Regions from separate parts of the Homo sapiens genome. Here region 1 is linked to region 2. The links are contacts of gene promoters, found by promoter capture Hi-C in human tissues and cell types (Jung and others, 2019). All regions are on one chromosome and are shown on one strand. Each heading gives the region's core, a stretch centred on a gene start or on the middle of the fragment in contact. The rest is flanking DNA. Distances are from core to core; before and after follow the strand shown. Region 1 overlaps TTC7B (tetratricopeptide repeat domain 7B). Region 2 holds the start of NRDE2 (NRDE-2, necessary for RNA interference, domain containing).

Region 1 (4,511 bases), core at 15-2,514, 310 kb before region 2:
CATCAGCAGCGCTCAAGAGCCCTGTGGTTCCATACACCAATACTTGGTGCTGCCCGACTTCATATTTTTGGCAGAATGGTTGCTGGTTAATGATGTCACCTTGTGAGTTTAAGTTGCGCATCCCTCATTACTAATGAGTTTGGACATCTTTTTATTTGTCTATTGGTCATTCACCTTTTCTCTTTTGTGAAGTGTATGTGAAATTCCTTCTTTTTTATTGGATGGTCTTTTCCTTAATAATATTTCTTTATGTATTTTGGTTACAAGTCTTTTTCTTAGTTATATGTGTTGCAGAAATCTTCTCCCAAGCTGTGATTTTGTTTTGCTTTCTCTTCATGATGTCTTTTGATAAACAGAAGTTCTTAATTTTAAAGTAATAGAAAGTAGAAGTCGTTTCCTTTATGGACAGTACTTTCTATGTCTAGTTGAAGAAACCTTTCCCTTCTCCAAGATCATGAAGGTAGTCTCCTAAATCATCTTCTAAAAGCTCTCTTGTGCTATCTTTCACACTGAAACCTAAGGGCCCACCTAGAATGGACTGTTTTATGTGTGTATGGTATGAGCCAGCCAATGTGATTTTCCCCATAGGATATTCAATTGTCCCAGCATCAAACGCTGAAAAGATTCTTTGCCCTGTTGCTCCACAGTTCCACCTTTGTCATCAACCAAATGTCCGCAGTTGTTTCTAAGTTTCCTGTTTTGTTCCATTGGCCATCGTGCCAGTCCCATGTGATTGCCACTGTCTTGTCACTGTCATAGCTTCATTATATGTAAGGTGGGTCCCTCTCTGTATCCTGCTCTTTAGGTTGCCATGGCTTGTCTTGGGCCTTTGAACTTTCACATAAATTTTCAAATCAGCTCGTCCAGTTCCACAGAAAACTTCTGGAGATTTTGGAATTAGTTTAATTTAATAGCTTAGTTTGGGGAGAATTGTATATTTATGACAGTAGGTTTTCTAATCCATAGCCATTATAGCTCCCTAATTATTTAGGCCTTTACAAGTATTTTTGGATGTTTTTATAATTTTTTAATAAATATTTTGCCCATTTTTTACTAGACTTATTTCTAGTTACCTGAAAAAATTTTTCATGCTTTTATATGCACTATTGTATACAGAATATTTTTGTAATCAAATTTACTATGTACTTGTTGCGAAGGTATAGAAAGGTAACTGGTTTTTGCACATTCTTCTTGACCCAGCTAAATTCTTAATAAGTCTAATGACATATATAACTCAGTTTGGAATTTCTACATACATAATGACTTTTTTTCTGAGGTGATTAAAATTGTTTCTTTTTCTCTAATCTTTCCATTTTTTTAACTTGTCTTACTGTACTAGTTAGGACCTAGTAGTTAAATGAGAAAATTCTTTCAATGTTTTACCATTAAGAATTACATTTAGCTGGGTGCAGTGGTCCACGCCTGTAATGCCAGCACTTTGAGAGGCTAAGGCAGGAGGATCGCTTGAGCTCAGGAGTTCAAGACCAGCCTGGGCAACATTGTGAGACCCCATCTCTAGATAAAAAAAAAAAAAGGGTAGCCAGATGTGATGGCGTGTACCTGTGGTCCCAGCCACTCAGAAGGCTGACGTGGGAGGATCAGTTGAGCCCAGGAAGTCAAGGCTGCACCACTACACTCCAGCCTGGGCAACAGAGCGAGGCCCTGCCTCAGAAAAAAAGAATTGTGCTTGTTACAGGTTTGTTTGTAGGTACTATTTAAGAGATTAAAGAAGTTTCCTTCTTCCTGGTTTATTAAGAGTTGTTTTGTTAATGATGAAACGATAGCAGATTTTATCAAATGCCTTTTCTATATCTATTGAGATGATTATATGACTTTATTCCTTTCATCTATGAATGTTATATATTAATTTATATTTTTAAATGTTAAACTCACCTTGTATACTTGGAATAAGCCCAACTTGATTGTGATAAATTAGCTTTTTTATGGATTCACTTTACTTATTTTTTAGAGAACTTCGCGTTTGTGTACATTTGCAAAATAGGCCTATTCTTTTCCTTTCTCCTTCTGTTCTTGCCAGATTTTGGCATCAAGGTCAGCCCAGCCTCATAAAGTGAGTTGGAGTAGTACTTTTTCTTTTTGCATGTTTTGGAATTATTTGTTCTGAGAATATTAAGTTTTGGTAGAATGCATCTGTAAAACCATGTGGGGCTGGGGGGGGGTTTTTCTCTGTGGGAAGATTTCTGATGCTTTTTAAAAATAATTATAGTCTATTCAGGTCTTCTATTTCTTTTTTTTTATTAAGCTATGTATAATGTATAAGCTGTAATTATATTATATGTAAGGATTTGTCCATTTCATCTAAATTTTAAATTTTATTGGCATAAGATAATTCATAATGTTTATTTTTCATATGGCATTTGTTGGTTAAGTTTTTTTCAATTCTAATATTGTTTAATGCACCTTATTTCTTTTCTTGAATAGTCTTGCCAGATACTTGTCTGTTACATGGATCCTTTCAAACAACCAGTAACTTTTTTGTCAACTCACTTGTGGGTTTACTTTCTCTTTCATGAATTTCTGTTCTCATTTTCATTATTTTCTATCTTCTGTTTTCTCTAAGTTCTGTCTTGTTGTATTTTGGGTTTTTTTTTTTTCTTAATCTCTTAGTTGGGTGTTCATTCATTTTTTGCCTTATTTTCTGACATAAGCATTTAAGACTAAAAATTTTCCTCTAAATGCTGCTGTAGCTGTAAACTACAAGTTTCAATATTTGAAATTTTTATTATTGTATAATTCTAAATATTTTGAAATTTCTGTTATTTTCTTTTTGATCCATTAGTTGTCTTTGAACTGTGTTTTACAATTGTCAAATATGAGTTTTTTCAACTTATCTTTTGTTATGAGCTTTTAACTTCATTAAATTATGTTTAAAGACTATATATACATTTGAAATTGGTCGAACTTATTTTGTGGCCCAGTGGTTACTTCTTGTAAATATTCCATGTGTGCCTGAAAAGAATGTTTTCTGCATTTGTTGAGGAAATTTTTATATGTTTTATTAGTTTGAGTTGTTAATTATGCTATCAGAGCTTTTTTGTTTTTATAGAGGTTTTTTCTACTTTATCATTTGTTGAGAGGAGGTATGTTGAAATCTACCACTGGGATGGCGGATTGGCTTTTTTTTTTTTTTTTTTTTACCACATCGTTATAGCAGTTTTTCCTTTCTATATTTTAAAGCTGTGCTATTAGTTGCATATAAATTTAGAGTTGCTGTGTATTATGGTACATTCAACCTTTTATGATTATGTTGTAAGATACAAGGCATTTTGCTTCAAAGTCTATTTTGTATGATATACATATGGCCACATACATATATATGTGTAGCCATATATCTGTACATATATGTGTGTGCATGTGTGTGAGTATACACACATGTATACATATACACATATATAGACTTGGACTATCATTTTCCATTCTTTTTGAACTTTTTTTTTTTTTTTGAGATGGAGTCTCACTCTGTTGCCCAGGCTGTAGTGCAGAGGCACAATCTCAGCTCACTGCAACCTCTGCCTCCTGGGTTCAAGTGAGTCTCCTGCCTCAGCCTCCTGAGTACTTGGGATTACAGGTGCGCACCACCACACCCAGCTAATTTTTGTATTTTTTAGTAGAGACGGGGTTTCACCATGTTGGCCAGGCTGGTCTCGAACTCCTGACCTCAAGAGATCTGCCTGCCTCGGCCTCCCAAAGTGCTGGGATTACAGACGTGAGCCACCGCACTCGGCCACTTTTTGAATTTTTAAAATACGTTTTGGATGTACTCTTCTGCTTATTATATATAGATAATTTTTTTTTTTTTTTTTTGAGACAGAGTCTGACTCTGTCGCCCAGGCTGGAGTGCAGTGGCGCAATCTCGGCTCACTGAAAGCTCTGCCTCCTGGGTTCACGCCATCCTCCTGCCTCAGCCTCCCAAGTAGCTGGGACTACAGGTGTCCACCACCATACCTGGCTAATTTTTTGTATTTTTAGTAGAGATGGGGTTTCACTGTGTTAGCCAGGATGGTCTCGATCTCCTGATCTCATGATCCTCCCACCTCGGCCTCCCAAAGTGCTGGGATTACAGGCGTGAACCACTGCGCCCGGCCTATATATACTGATAATTTTTTAAAACCCAGGCTTATGGTATCTGGAATATTTAGTTCATTTCTATTTATTGTAAATACTGACATATTTATATTTGTGTCTACCATGCTATTTATGCTTTCTATTTGACTTGCCTCTTGTTCCATATCGTATCCTCTCCTTTTCTGCTTTCTTTTAGATCGATTATATTTTTATGATACATTTTTTCTCTGCTAATATGGAAAAGAAACATTCTCTTTTAGCTCTTCTTCTTTAGTGATTACCCAAGAAATTTTAGTGAGGGTCTATTGCTGGCAGACTTTCTTAGACTGTATCTAAAAGTGTACTTGGCATTGCTGTCCAAAGAAGTTTTTCAAATTGGATGTACAATTCTAGGCTCAAACATTTTCTCACAAATAGTTGACTCC
Region 2 (4,935 bases), core at 614-3,113:
AGATTCCTTTGTATTACAGAAACATTATTATTATGGTTTTAATTTCTTAAAACTTCCATATTAATTCTTACTTTTCTGGGGTGGAAAGATAGGAGGCATTGGGATAGACTATTTCCATCCCAGTTACCTGAAGTGATCTGCTAAGAAAGACAAATGCTGCCCCAATTAATTGAGGTAACTTAGAGTCAAAGATTTTGGCAGAACCTGAGATTTAAAGTTGAAGACATACAGGAATTACTGCCCCTATTGTCATACTAAGCTCCTTTTTGTAAGTACTCTGCCAGGGACTTCAAAGCATTAAGGGTGTCTATTTTGGACTCATAGAACCTAATTCTTATGCAGGTCTGCAGACTTCATCAGAGTCCATCCATTCCTTGATTAGATGATTACATTTGCATCTCTGGTTTATAATGTATTTCCTAACTAAAGATCTTTAACTCCCTAGGATCCCAATAAATATATCTTCATTTACCTATCTATTTTCACTTGCAAATATTTCAGTATATATCTCTAATATATAAGAACTTTAAAAAGTAATCTCAGGCTGGGTTGGGGGGTGCTCAGGCACAGGCACCCAGCACTTTGGGAGGCAGAGGGGGGCAGATCGCTTGAGCCCAGGAGTTCGAGACCAGCCTGGGCAACATGGTGAAACCCTGTCTCTATTAAAAAAAAAAAAATTAAGCCAGACATGGTGGTGTATGCCTGTGGTTCCAGCCACTTGGGAGGCTGAGGTGAGGGGATTGCTTGAATCGAGGAGTTCGAAGCTGCAGTGAGCAGAGATCGTACCACTACACTCCAGCCTGGGTGGCAGAAGGAGACCTTGTCTCAAAATAAATAAATAAGGGTCACCTCAGTGACATAAGTACTTTAGTACATCTAACAGAATTCACAAGAATTACTTGTGAATTGCTTGTACTCTGCCTACCTTCTTATTTCTCCATCTATCTTAAAAAGGTCTTTTTACAGTTTGTCCAATCAGAATTATAATGAGGCCACAAATATGTTGTATTTGCTTGATGTGTCTGTAAGATCTTCGTATCTATTACAATCTCCTGCCCTCTTAAAGCCCTTGATATGTTAAGGAAGCACGGTTGTTTTCTATAATTTCCCATATTCTAGATTTGGCTAATTGTTTCTTGGTAGTACAAAGTCTTCTAAGTTGTTCCTTTACTCTCTATATTTCTGGTAGCAAGTGTGATTAGATTTTGGGTGGGAGGAACCGGGGTCAAGAATGCTTCACAGACAGGTATTTCCTAACTATCAAAGACCCTTGAACTTGATGGGACTTTCCATTTTTCCTTGTTCTGGGGTATTTAATATGGTAACCTGATTGAAGTTCGGATATCTCACATGACTTTGAGCCGAACTTGCAGTCGTAATTCACATAATAGCTAACACATATTAAGTGCTTTTCATGGGCCGGACTCAATGCTAGGCCCTTTATAAATATGTTCATTTAATCTTCTCAATATTTTGCAGATAAGGAAAGTAATGCTTAGAGCGTTTAAGTTGACCCAGTTAGCAAGGATGGTGTGAATTTAGGGGTCGAACTGGAATCCCAATTTCCTTAGTCCCTTTCGCGGTCAACAATTCCCTTCTCCGGTTTTCGCAGTTCCGGTTCTCACAGGGTCCCAACCACTAGGAACCCGTCACTCCTCGCTCCGCCCCCCTTGGCCCCGCCCCACCCTGCTTTGCCCTGCCTCTCCCTGCCCCGCCGCGCCCCAGTCCCTTGACGACCCTCCTCTCTGGGCCCCGCCCCTCCCGCTTCGGGGTCAAGCCCCAGAGAGCGCCGCGAAAACCACATTTCCCAGAGTGCACCGCGACGGCAGGGGTCCTCAGACCGGCGCTCGCTCGCCGGCGCCATCCCTATAGAGAAGAACGGAGGTACGGCCTGTGGTCATGGCGCTGTTCCCAGCCTTTGCGGGGCTTAGTGAGGCTCCCGATGGCGGGAGCTCCAGGAAAGGTAAGCACACAAACGAGCCGAAGAAGGCACCTGGGGGGCTTAAGAGGCTGTTTCTCGGGCCCAGGTCTAGACTTTTGCTTTGGATTTGTGTATCCATTTGTATCCCAGAGTTCTCCGCGGCGCTGCAAAGCCTTCTGGGAAAGGCTCAATCCCTCCGAGGTCTGGGGCCCAGAGGCCTGTTCTGGACCAAGGTTGTAGAGTTATGGAGGGGTGGAGAAAGACCAGCAGATGCCCTGGAGCTGGGACTTCTGTACGATGTTGTTAGGTCCTGTTCTTCTTTTCGAGCCTCAGTTACTTCATCTTTAAATTGGGAATAATGATACTCGACATCTCGAGGAAACCCTTGATGCAAATGCAGAATGTTTTTATTACATATTACTTCCTTTCCTGTTATACTTATTTCTGAAATGCTTATTAGATTGGTATTACTTAGCGGCCTAGAGCTAGGGGATTAGTATCCAAAACCTAATCAGTTTCTCTCTGGAGGGGCACAGCACCCAGTGAAAATAACTAACATTTATTCTTGAGGGCCTAGTGTGTATCAGGTTATGGCTTTACACATTTTACTTAAGTCCCAGACATTTCCAGCAGAGCTGCATTGTTCAAAATTGGGGTACATAGTTCATTTAAGAAGTAATTAATCCTGGCCAGGAGCAGTGGCCCACACCTGTAGGTGGAAGGATAGTTTGAGCCCGGGAGTTCATGACCATCATGATCAACATAGCGAGACTCCTGTCTCTTAAAAAAAAAGCCAGGCGTGGTGGTGCACACCTATAGTATCAGCTCCTCAGGAGGCTGAGGTAGGAGGATTGCTTGAGCCCAGAAGTTTGAGGCCGCAGTGAGCCATGATCGTGCCGCTGCATCCTGCCCTGGGGTGGGGGGACCTTGTCTCTAAAAAAAAAAGAAAAAAAAGTAATTCTAAATTATGTGCCATATGTGACAGGGCGCAATTGAGTCTTACCTGTCTGTTATATCCTCTAATATAGTTCCTACACTTTCTGTAACGTTTCTCCTAATTTTTTTTTTTTTTTTTGAGACAGGGTCTCACTCTGTTGCCCAGGCTGGAGTACAGTGGCACTGTCATAACTCACTGCCGCCTCAGACTCCTGGGCTTAACTTCCTGCCTCAGCCTCATGAATAGCTGGAACTACTGGTGTGCACCACCAGGCCTGGCTAATTTTTTTTAATATTTAGTAGAGACGAGGTCTCACTGTGTTGACCAGGCTGGTCTCGAACTCCTGAGCTCAAGCGATTCTCTATCTGAGCCTCCCAAAGTTCTAGGATTACAGGCATGAGCCACTGCGCTTGTCCTATTTCTCATAATTGTGAGTAATTTCTTGTGTAAAATTGTTGTCTTCCCTTACTAGACTGTAATCTCTATCAGGTTGGGCAGTGTTTGTCTATTCATTGTAGCATAGTTAGCCCCTAGCACAGGTCCAAAGTATAATAGGTGTTCAATAAATATTTTCTGGATGTACAGATCGATAGTAGTTACTTAATAATTACGTGTTGCAGGAATGCATGAGTGCACCTAAAAGAAGTGTATAGTACAAGGTGGGATATTACAGATACCATAGGTGAACTGCAGGATTAATTACTTCTTTTTATTTATTTATTTATTTATTTTTTTTTTTGAGACCAAGTCTTGCTCTGTCGCCCAAGCTGGAGTGTAATTGTACGATCTTGGCTCACTGCAGCCTTCGCCTCCTGGGTTCAAGTGATTCTCCTGCCTCAGCCTCCCGAGTAGCTGGGACTACAGGCACTCACCACCATGCCCGGCTAATTTTTGTATTGTTAGTAGAGATGGGGTTTCACTGTTTTGGCCAGGCTGGTCTCGAACTCCTAACTTTAAGTGATTCGCCCACCATAGCCTCCCAAAGTGCTGGGATTACAGTTGTGAGCCACCACACCCAGCCCAGGAATAATTACTTCTAATAGAAGGTTCAAAGAAGGCTTTATGTAGGAACTAATATTTTTTTCTTTTACTTTTTTTTTTTTTTTTTTTGAGGCAGTCTCACTCTGTCACCCAGGCTGGAGTGCAGTGGCACAATCTCAGCTCACTGCAACCTCCGCCTCCTGGCTTCAAGTGATTCTTGTGCCTCAGTCTCCCGAGTAGCTTGGATTACAGGCATGCACCACCACACCTGGCTAATTTTTTGTATTTTTAGTAGAAATGGGGTTTCACCATGTTGGCCAGGCTGGTCTTGAACTCCTGAGCTTAGATAATCCGCCCACCTCGGCCTCCCAAAGTGCTGGGATTACAGGTGTGAGCCAACGTACCCAGCCTACTTTTTTTTTTCTTAAGTAGGGACAGGGTCTTGCTATGTTGCCCAGGCTGATCTCAGACTGCTGGGCTCAAGTGATCCTCCTGCCTCAGCCTCCCAAAGTTCTGGAATTACAGGCGTGAGCCACTGTGCCTAGCCAGGAGCTAAGTTTTGGATGGATCTTCAAGAGAGTAGGATTTGGACAAATAAAATGGGGGAAGTGTATACCAGGGCCTTCAAGTCCTGCAGAAGAAAAGTGTGAGAACTGCAAATCATCTAGTTTGTCTGGAGGTGTAGTGGCATAAAGAGGAGCCTTGGGAAATATGGTTGGGCTGGTGGTGATGGAGGATAGTGATCTTTAATAACATGTCAAAGCTTTATCCTTTTATTTTGAGAGGGGGAAATCGAACTTTTGCAGAGGAGTCTTACTCTTAAATAGTATTTATTTGACATCCTCTGGATATCTACAATCAGGAAAATGTGTGTAAAAGTATGTTTTATAAAGTATTGTCTTTTGAAAAAATATAAACACAGCATCATCTCTTGTAATGGAAAAAAGCCTTAATTCTTTTCTGGTCATTTTCACTTACCAGTCAGTGTTCAAATTTCACGAGATGTTTCAAAAATGGGATTTTACAGTTGGATTGTCCAAGTCAATTTCCAAAATACAGCCAACATTGCATTTTGTGGATATATGCCTTAGGTCTC

What was found. The method cuts DNA at HindIII sites, captures the fragments that hold promoters and counts their contacts. A contact is called where the count stands out against the background at its distance.
Region 1: a contact is called between a fragment that was not itself captured here and the fragment with the promoter of NRDE2 in region 2, in 1 of the 25 tissues and cell types used here (hippocampus).

The regions. Positions count from the first base shown.
Region 1 is chr14:90,635,074-90,639,584 of GRCh38, reverse strand. All of the region lies in intron 15 of TTC7B (tetratricopeptide repeat domain 7B), which reads left to right. Among named protein-coding and RNA genes, the nearest start is that of TTC7B-AS1, 5.3 kb to the left of the region's middle. RefSeq lists an enhancer at 1-35. The HindIII fragment of the contact is 5,972 bases long and covers 1-4,250 here.
Region 2 is chr14:90,328,869-90,333,803 of GRCh38, reverse strand. NRDE2 (NRDE-2, necessary for RNA interference, domain containing) reads left to right here and starts at 1,863. Exons shown (of 14, transcript NM_017970.4): 1 at 1,863-1,963. The coding sequence starts at 1,900. RefSeq lists a silencer at 1,630-1,779 and an enhancer at 1,930-2,109. The HindIII fragment of the contact is 6,388 bases long and covers 1-4,935 here.